Linked DNA regions of Homo sapiens: region 1 is linked to region 2. The links are contacts of gene promoters, found by promoter capture Hi-C in blood cells and fetal thymus (Javierre and others, 2016). All regions are on one chromosome and are shown on one strand. Each heading gives the region's core, a stretch centred on a gene start or on the middle of the fragment in contact. The rest is flanking DNA. Distances are from core to core; before and after follow the strand shown. Region 1 overlaps STXBP5 (syntaxin binding protein 5). Region 2 holds the start of SHPRH (SNF2 histone linker PHD RING helicase).

The links. The method cuts DNA at HindIII sites, captures the fragments that hold promoters and counts their contacts. A CHiCAGO score of 5 or more calls a contact.
Region 1: a contact is called between a fragment that was not itself captured here and the fragment with the promoter of SHPRH in region 2, in 2 of 17 cell types (activated CD4 T cells and fetal thymus). The highest score is 5.3, in activated CD4 T cells.

What each region holds. Positions count from the first base shown.
Region 1 is chr6:147,219,850-147,225,432 of GRCh38, forward strand. The region is part of intron 2 of STXBP5 (syntaxin binding protein 5); the gene reads left to right. Among named protein-coding and RNA genes, the nearest start is that of STXBP5-AS1, 18 kb to the left of the region's middle. The HindIII fragment of the contact is 2,993 bases long and covers 1-2,937 here.
Region 2 is chr6:145,962,532-145,967,488 of GRCh38, forward strand. It overlaps SHPRH (SNF2 histone linker PHD RING helicase), which reads right to left and starts at 1,827. Exons shown (of 30, transcript NM_001042683.3): 1 at 1,200-1,827. RefSeq lists enhancers at 1,344-1,473, 1,584-1,803, 1,715-2,702, 2,254-2,303. The HindIII fragment of the contact is 1,513 bases long and covers 914-2,426 here.

The DNA of each region.
Region 1 (5,583 bases), core at 191-2,690, 1.3 Mb after region 2:
TTTCTCTTTTGATCTCCTGTATTCAGTTTCACTGATTTCTTCCTTAACTGTTATTATTTATTTTCTTCTGTTTACTTTGGGTTCAGTTTCCTCTTCTTTTTGTAGTTTCTTAAAGCAGAAGTGATTGATTTTACCTGTTTCTTCTTTAATATATATGAATTCAATGCTATAAATTCCCTTTAAGTACTATTTTCTGTGTTTCCCATAAATTTTGATAAGTTGTTTTCATTTTTATTTAGTTCAAAACATTTAAAAAATTCTCTCTTAATATCTTTTTTGACCCAAGTGTTAATAGAATTGTTTTGTTTAATCTCTACATATTTTGGGATTTTCCAGCTCTCTTTTTGTTATCGATTTCTAGTTTACTTCCATTATGTTCCAAGAGCAGACATTGTATAGTTTCTATTCTTTCAAATTTTTTGAGGTATATTTTATGGCCCAGAATATATTCTGTCTTGGTTAATGTTCCATGTGAGTTTGAGAAGAATGTGTGTTTTGCTGTTATTGGATAACGTAGACTGTAGATGTCCATTATATCTAGTTGGTAAAGAATGGTGTTGAGTTCAGCTCTGTTGGCACTTTTTTTCTGCCTGCTGGATCTGTCCATTTCTGATAGAGGGATGTTAAAGTTTACAACTGTAATAGCGGATTCATATATTTCTCCTTGCAGTTTTATGAGTTTTTGTCTCATATATTTTGACACTCTGTTCTTAGGTGCATACACCTTAAGGATTGTTGTGGTTCTTGGAGAATTGACTCTTTTTTCATTTTGTAATGCCCCACTTTAATGACTTTCCTTGGTCTGAAGTCTGTGTCTGAAATTAATATAGCTACTTTGCTTTCTTTTGATTAGTGAAAGCATGGCATATCTTTCTTCATCTATTTACTTTTATTCTATATGTGTCTTTATATTTAAAGTGAATTTCTTGCAGACAGCGTATAGCTGGGTCTTAGTTTTAGATCCACTTTGACAATCTGTCTTTTAATTGGTGCATTTAGGCCATTGAAGTTTAAAGTGAATGTTGATATACTTCAAATAATACCTACCATATTTGTTACTGTTCTCTATTTGTTGCCCTTGTTTTTGTTTCTATTTTTGTTTCCCGTTCTTTTTATGCCTCTTGTGGTTTTAATTGACCATTTTATATGGTTCCACATTTTCTCTCCTTTCTTAGCATATCAGTTTCTTAGCATATCAGTTATACTTCTTTTATTTTTTTAAATAGTTGCTCTAGAATATGCAGTATATATTTACTGTTAATCTGGGTCTACTTTGAAAGAACACTGTACTGCTTCACAGGTCATATGAGTACCTTGTAATAACAAAAAGAAATTGTAATTCTTTACTCTGATCACTTATGTCATTGCTGTCATTCATTTCACCTATATATAAGCATATGTGTTTATATATGTAAACATACATAAACTGGATACATTGTTGCTGTTATTATTTTGAAGAAACTATTACTACTAGATCAGTTAAGAAACAGAAAAGTTTTTATTTTTGCCTCTATTTCTCTGATGCTGCCTTCCTTTATGTAGAGCTGAGTTTCTGATCTATGTCATTTTCTTTAAGAAAAAAACAACTTTGACATTTTTTGCAGCACAGGTCATTTTGTCAGTTTTTGTTTGAGCAAGTTTTCATTACTTCTTCAGTTTTGAAGGCTAATTTTGCAGTGTACAGAATTCCAGTTTTTTTTTTTTTAACTTTCTGCACTTTAAATGTTTTATTTCTCTCTCTTCTTGCCTGCATGGTTTCTTGTGAGAAGTCAGAAATAATTTTTATCTTTGCACCTCTGTTGGTAAGGGGTTTTTTTCCAATGGCTTCTTTCAAGATTTTTTTTTAATCTTTGGATTTCTGCAATTTGAATATAATATGTCTAGGTGTAGCTTTCTTTTTTTTTTTAGCATTTATTCTGCTTGGTATTTTCTTAGCTTCTCGAATTTGTGGTTGGTATCCGACATTGATTTAGAGGAAATTCACAGTCATTATTGCTTTAAATATTTCTTTCTGTTCCCTCTTCTCCTGGTTTTCCTGTTACATGTACGCCTTTTGTTGTTGTCTCTCTGTTCTCAGATACTCTGTTCTGTTTTTTTCCAGTTTTTTTTCTCTTTGCTTTTCAATTTTGGACATTTCTGTTGAGGTATCCTCAGGTTAAGAGACTATTTCCTTAGCTGTGTCCAGACTACTATGGAGTCTGTCAAAGGCATTCTTTACTTCTGTTAAAGTGTTTTTGGATTCTAGCATTTCTTTTTGACTGGTTCTTAGAATTTCCATCGTTCTGCTTATATTGCCCATCTGTTGTTTGGTATTGTGTACTTTATCCATTAGAGCCCTTAGCATATAAATCATGGTTGTTTTAAATTCCTAGTCTGATAATTGCAACATTACTGCCATTTCGAAGTCTGATTCTGATGCTTGCTCCATCTCTTCCAACTGTATTTTTTGCCTTTTAATTTTTTCCTGATATCGGGACATGATGTACTAAGTAAAAGGAACTGCTGCAAATAGGCCTTTGGTAATGGTGTGGGGGGAAGGGAAGTGTGCTATAGTCCTGTCATTAGGTGTCAGTTTTTTAGTGAGTCTGTGCTCTTGGACTGTGAACTTCAGGAGTGCTTCTTAATCTCTTCTCCCCACACTTCCTCCCACTCCCTTTTAGGTGGAATAAGATGGCTAAAGTGGGCTGGAGTTGCGTACTTCTCTTCCTTTACTTGGAAGGCTTGGGCCCACTGGAGTGATTTTTCTTCTCTCAGGTTAGTTGGTCCCTGATAAAACCCCAGCAGGTTAGGCTCTCGTAAAAGTGTTATTTCTGAAGGCAGTCCTTGTTGTTAAGAACAGAATATGCTCTTGCATATTTAAAAATGGTTGCCTTTTCTCTTCCCTCTGCTGGTAGCATGAGGGAATTTTCTCCAATATTCATTGTGAGAACCTGCTCAAGCTTTAGAGGTAAAATTTACAAAGATGTGGGGACATCTCTATGACTGGGTTCCCCTGGAGTTTTTGACTTTCTGACTTGCCTATTTTGAGCCTCCGGCTATTCCTCAGTTACAGTGCTTGCTTCCTTACCCGGACACAGGTTTTCACAGAGGTTTGTGCTTATGGGTTTCTGCTTTCAGCAAGTTGTGATTCTCTGTATCCACCTGTCTGTCTTTCCAGTTTGGGGGCAGTGGTTTTTCTTGTGTCTCACTTCTCTTACAGATCTTTAAGAAGAGTTGTTGATTTTCCAGTTTGTTCAGCTTTTTACTTCTTGTTAAGATAAAATGATTTCCATGCTCCTTACACACTACACTGGAAAAGAGAAGTTGATATTAACTTTTATTGGTGAAAACATAGGTGGTCTTCAAAAAGAGGTTTTAAAACTGACGTTTATCAAGTAGGTGCAACTATGGAATGGGGTACTCTAAAACTGTAATTAATCAGTTGGCAAAGGCTTTGGATTGCAAGCACATTCATAGCCCATAATATACAAAATGAAGTGCTCTTCATTATGTTCATCTTTGGTAAAGACTTACTAAACTGTTGTTTTGAGCATATTTCTATTAAGTCAGTCAGAAGCTAATTTAGATGAGAGTAGAAAATTATTAAACATTTGGAAAATAAGACCTGGGAGGAGATAGGGAATTCATGATTATTCAATTAGAAAAAAAGGAAATCAGAGAAGTTATTTAATAGATTATATGTATATAAATAGATTATTTAGGGAAGGTAATGCTTAATTATACTTATGTCCACAAGGTTTCCCAGTGTTTCTCAACTATGGCTATACATTAGAATAATTTGTGGAGCTGAAAAAACCAAAATGTACAAACAATGCCCAAACATGCTTGGATTTCTTCTTTAGAGCTTCTGATTCAGTGAGTATGGCAAGGGGCATGACATCTGTAATTTTTTGTTTTTTAAATCTTTGTGGATGCTTGTGATATAGAGCCAAAATTGAGAAATACTGGTTTAAGTGTTTGACAGGCTGGGTAGCAGTATTCTTAGGCAGATGGTAGAAAAGAAACATGTTAATTACTGTATATAGAGAGGATGTCGTTTTAAAGCAGTCATAACATCTTGAGATCTGTGGTGTAACCATGAGGAAATACACTGCCTTTTTGTTCTGCCACTGCCTTTGGAGACAGGGCTGTGAAACTGTTACGTGAAATATTTGGAAAGGAACTGGAGTTCCAGGTCTTGAGTTATGGTGTTTTTCCTTCCTAGCAGTTTATCACTGGTCAAGAGAACGAGCAATATAAAAGACCTTGAAGTCTAATTATGGTTGAAAAGTCTATTCTTAAACATGCAGGGCTTGGCCAGGTGCGATGGCACATGCCTGTAATCTCAGCACTTTGGGAGGCCAAGGCAGGCGGATCATTTGAGGCCAGGAGTTCAAGACCAGCCTGGCCAATATGGTGAAACCCTGTCTCTACTAAAAATAAAGAAATTTGCCGGGCATGGTGGTGCATGCCTGTAATCCCAGCTACTGGGAGGCTGAGGCACTAGAATCACTTTCACAGCCGGGAGGCAGAGGTCGTAGGGAACTGTGATTGCACCACTGAACTCCAGCCTGGGAGACAGACTGAGACTGTGTCTCCAGATAAATAAAATAAAATAAACCGAACTAAACTAAACTAAATTAAAATAAAATTTAAAAATTAAGTTGCAGGTGATCCTCACACTGATCAGGTTAAGAATGCAAATGACGTTTCACAGATGAGAAAACTACAGCACAGTTAGATTGTTTTAGTTATTACAGATCATTTAATGTATTTTCATTTTTTCCTGGTAACCTGCTACTTACAGAAAGTTTATTTTTTTATCATTAGTAGGATAAATGTATCATGTACTGCTGCTTTTATTTATTGACTTTCATTTATCCCCCATAACAGTGTGGATGAAGAAATCAAAGGTTTCTGATGATGCTCAATTTTTTTAAATTGTTTTTATGTTCACACAAAATAAAGGACAGTATTGGTCCTAATCTAAAGCTCATCCTCTTTTCACAAATGCTTCCATCAATATTCTTTGATCCCATTACAGTGGTATTTAGATTTTAACTTTGTTATTGAAAAATAATCACATTATGGTTAAATCTCTTCAAGACTTAGGCCATTAAAAGTAAAAATCATCTACTGACTTTTTATTCAGAGTAGTAAGGCAATTCAGAGTAGCAACATTTTGAAGGCATATCAAAATACTTAAAAAGGTTTAAATTACCCTGTTTGCTGAAAGTAAAAGAATGTACTGAAAGAAATGGTAAGAGAGGTTAACCTTCAGTGTTTCTGATGAATTAAAATTGTGCTCTTGGGTTTACCTTTTTTACTGTGGTAAGAAGGAACAGTTTTCCCTTAAATTTTTTCTTGGTTTAGTAGGAGAATATCTACTCAAAGAAATTTACTTTCACAGAATATTATATAATTAAACATATACTATTATAGGATAACTTATTGTCATTTCTAAATGTAGTTCATAGAAAATATCATGATCCTTATTCTTATCTTTAAACTTTGCAAGATATAAATGTATTTCCAGAAACCTCACCGGATATCACAGTTCTCCAGTTGCTTTCTATTTTATGTGTACTCTAGTCTTCCATTCCT
Region 2 (4,957 bases), core at 577-3,076:
AAACAAGGATGGAATGCTAGAAAAATAAACATAAAATGTTACATTACTAAGACAATCCAACAAATGAATAACACAACTTAAATTCACATTTTTTCCCTCCAAAATATTATTTCCTCTTTAAAAGATACACACAAATCTTGAATTACAACAAATCCATGGTAGATCTGGGTTTAGGCTATTAAGGGCAAAAAGGATTACATACTTGCCATATTCCTGTCCAAAATGTTGTGTTATGGAAATGAAGCCCACTCATTACTAAGTACTAGGAAGCTCTTAATGACCCAGGGTTAACATAATCTTTTCCTTTTCTGTAGAAATAATTCCAGCAAGGTGAGAGTATTTTCTTCTACTGAATGCTAAAATATGCTAGTTACATAAACTTTAAAAATGCCCTCATAAGAAGCTTTTTCACCAGCAAATTGTTTCCCCTAAATCTTACTGGCCTAAACTCTTAATAATAAAAGTTTTGTTTTAATAATTCTGTAAGTCCAGCTCCTTTCGGGTGGACAAAGAGGATATACAAGAGCATCTCTCAAAAGTAAACTATTTTATTCTCAATTGCCAGCTTACTGGTTAACTGGTCCTTTAAAGCTCTAGAAAGTGCAGGTTATCGAGCACAGACATAATCATTACAATACTGCTCAGGACTGCTCTGTCTCCAGCATGTTTACTAATCATAAACTAAATAGTCTTTTTTGTGACAGTAGAGATATCATGGATCGTTTCTATTCAAGAGTTTCATCATTCCTACTAATGCCCACTGGAATAATTTAAAGTAACAGTAATAACTTTATCTTATTTTGTTCAGAAAAAGCCCCAAGTTCCTTAAGTTCCTTAAGTACAAGTTGGAAGGCATCAAACATCTCGGATTTCTACCTCGTGCTAATGTCAAACTACTTGGAAAAAGGGCACAAGCTTCCTGGTCATTATTTAACTGATCATTATACAGTGACTATTAATCATCAAATAACACCCTATCTTCGTTCATAAACATAGCAACTACCAGTCAAACTGTACAATGTCAAAGAGTGGTTCTGAATTCGAATGTAATTAATCTGGCTCCAAAGGTAACGGAGAACTTTGAGTGGGACTGAGAAACCTCTGCCTCCCCTTTTACTAATACAATGCCGCGCACAAAGAAGGGAGGCGGCGACCCAGTTCCAGCCTCCGGGGGTAGATCTGCGGCGCACGGTACCCACTCAGTTATCTTCCGAAAGACCCACAAGCGGCTCCCGGAGTCTGAGCGGGGCTGTCAGCGCCGGATCGCTCCCAGCAGGCCGAGCAAACAAGCGACCGCGAGGCCAAGGAGCGTGACGACGGACTCCCGGATCCTAGTGTGTTGGACGCTCGAGACAAACACCGCAGGCCCCAGTGCATGAGGAGAAGCACAGCCTCCTTTCCCACGACCCCACTTTATCCCCGGAGGGACGTGGTGGTCCGAAGTTCGCTAGTCCGGGATCGGGAAGAGGTGGGGAAGACTCGCGCAGCGGCTCCCTCTCAGCCCTTGAGCTTCCCGGGCTCCAGGACAACCAGCGTCCTCCCTCCCTGGTCCCGGAGGCCAAAGACCACCTCCCTCCCTCCCTCCCGACCTCTGACCCCTGACCTTCCATCACCCAAGCGCCTACCCAAGCTGGTTCTCCGAGCCTCTTGAGTCTGTTTGCACCAGGCCTGCGCTCCTCTACAGACCCAGCAGATCACGGGCACGCATTCGCCACCCACCGAACATGGGCTTGAGGTGGGCACGAGCGCTTTTTGCCGGAACGTGTAGGGGTCCCCCGGGAGACCCAGAAACCACAGCGCCTAGCTGCCGGGCGCGCGCTGTAGCGTGGGGTCAAGGCGAACGCGCTCGTCAGAGCACCCCGCCCCCTTTCTCCTGCGCTGGCTTCATGAGTCTCTTCTGCGCAAGTTCACACTGTTAAAAACTTGCTGAGGATACAGTGGAGTCTCGCGATAGCTCTGCCCCACGCCATTAGAGAACACAGGATGGCCGAATGCCCGAAGTAGGGGGCGGGGCTCCCCTTGAAGCGAAGGGCGTGTGTGATTTGTATCTCTAATAAAAAGGCAGGGGCCAGGAGCGGTGGCTCACGCCTGTAATCCCACCACTTTGGGAGGCCGAGGCGGGCGGATTTCCTGAGGTCAGGAGTTGGAGAACAGCCTGGCCAAGATAGCGAAACCCCGTCTCTACTAAAAATACAAAAATTAGCCGGGCGTTGTGGTGCGCGCCTGTAGTACCCGCCTGTAGTCCCAGCTGCTCGGGAGGCTGAAGCAGGAGAATGCTTGAACCTGCGAGGCAGAGATTGAGTAAGCCGACATCTCCCCACTGGGTGATAGAATGAGACTCCGTCTCACAAAAGAAAAGCAGAAAAGAATTCTGCAAAAGCATCTATTTTACTGCTATAAAGCAGCCACTAAGTAGGTACGAATAAAGCTTCTCCCCCTCAAAAACAGACTTTAAAGGGAAATGTGAATAAATATTCAAAGATGAGAGAAACTATTAAATACATGTGTTGCGCTGAAGCTGGCCTTCCACTATTGGTCTTTTTTCCTCTCACCTCTTCCTCATAGAAGTGACCTTAATGTTGGAATAACTCTGAGAGGCTTCAGGGTCAGGAGCCTGTGAAATAACCCTCAGGAAACACTGGGGACTCAGTACTTAGTTAGTGAGTACCTAATAGCAGCTTTTCTGCTGTGGAGGCCTTTTGGGTTGTGTGACCACAGAAGCACTTGAACTAAGTTCTTGTCCAAGTGAATATCGGTTGTAGTTGTGTTAGACAGTCCAGGGTAGTCCATATTTTACTTAGTATATTCCTTTATCACAGATACGAAGCTGTTTCCATAAGCAAATCCCCGCCTCCTTTTATTTTGCTTCCCTTTATTGTACTTTGCAGATAATATGTTTTCCTATAAATTGAAGTTTTTTGGCAACCTTACTCAAGCAAGTCTGTCAGCATCATTTTTCAAGCAGCATGTGTTCACTTGCTGTTCATCTGTTATGGTGATCTATGATTAGTTATCTTTGATGTTACTATTGTAGTTTTTTGGGAGCATTACAAACTCTGCTCATAGAAGATGCTAAACTTAATAAATGTTGTGTGTGTTCTGAAAGCTTCACTATTGGCGCCTGTCTCTCTTCCTCTCTTCAGGCCTCCCTATTCTTTGAGACACAACAATATTGAAATTAGGCCAATTAATAACCCTACAATGGACTATTAAGTGTTCAAGTAAAAGGAAGGGTGGCACATCTCTCACTTTAAATCGAAAACCGAAGGAATTTAGTGAGGAAGCCATGTCAAAAGCTGAGATAAGCCAAAAGCTAGGCCTCTTGTACCAAAGTTAGCTAAGTTGTGAATGCAAAGGAAAAGTTCTAGAAGGGAATTAAAAGTGCTACTCCAATGAAAACACAAATGATAAGAAAACGAAACAGCCTCATGCTGATATGGAAAAAGTTTTAGTGGCCTGAATAAAAGATAAAACCAGCCTCAGCATTCCCTTAAGCCAAAGCCTAATCCAGAGCAAGGCCCTAACTTTTTTCAGTTCTGTGAAGGCTGAGAGAGGTGATGAAGCTGTAGCAGAAAAATGTGAAGCAAGCAGAGGTTGGTTCATGAGATTTAAGAAAAGAAGCCATCTCCATAACATCAAAGTACAAGGTGAAGGAGCAAGTGCTGATGTAGAAGCTGTGGCAAGTTTTTCAGAAGATCTAGCTAAAATAATTGAAGCAGGTGGCCACACAAAACAACAGATTTTCCATGTAGATAAGACAGCTTTCTATAGAAAGAAAAGGCCATCTAGGACTTTCATAGCTTCTAAGCTTCACAGGACAGGTTGACTCTCTTGTTAGGGGCTAATGCAGCTAATGACTTGAATTTGAGGCCAATACTCATTTATCATTCTGAAACTCCTAGGGCCCTAAAGAGTTATGCTAAATCTATTCTGTCTGTACTCTATAAATGGAACAATGAAGTGTGGATGACAGCACATCTACTTAACAGCATAGATGTACAGGATATTTTAAGCCCACTGTTCAGACCTACTGCTCAGAAAAAAAAAAGATTCCTTTCAAAATATTACTGCTCATTTATAATGCACCTGGTCACCCAAGAGCTCTGATGGAGATGTACAAGGAGATTAATGTTGTTTTCATGCCTGTTAACACAAAACCCATTCTGCAGCCCATGGATCAAGAGTAATTTTAACTTTGACATCTTATTATTTAAGAAGTAATAAGGCTATGGATGACATAGATAGGAATTCTTCTGATAGATCTAGACAAAGTAAATTAAAAACTTCTGGAAAACATCCACCATTCTGTATGTCATTAACAACATTTGAGATTGGTGGGAGAGGTCAAAATATCATTAATAGTAGTTTAGAAGAAGTTGATTCCATCTCTCAGGAACTCAAAGTCTCAGCTTTGAAGGGATTGAGACTTCAATGGAGGAAGTAACTGCAGATGTGGTGGAAACAGCAAGAGAGCTAGAATTAGAAGTGGGGTCTGAAGATATGACAGAACTGCTGCAATCTCATAGTAAAACTTTAATGGATGAAGAGTTACTTCTTATAGATAAGCCAAGAAACTGGTTTCCTGAGATGGAATATACTCCTGGGAAGATACTGTGAACGTTGTTGAAATGACAGCAAAGATTTTAAAATATTTCATAAATTTAGTGGACAAAGCAGTCCAGAGTTTAAGGGGATTGACTTGAGTTTTGAAAGAAGTTCTACTGTTGGTAAAATGCTATCAAAGAGCAGTTCATATCATGGAGGAATATTTTGTGAAATAAAGAGTCAATTGCTGCAGCCAACTTTTTTAAGCAATATTTTTTAAGCAAGATTTTTTTTAGCAATACAATATTTTTTAAGTTAAGGTAGATACTTTTTTTAGACATAATGCTATTGCACACTTAACACACTACATTGTAGTGTCAGTGTCACTTTTATATGCACTGGGAAACAAAAA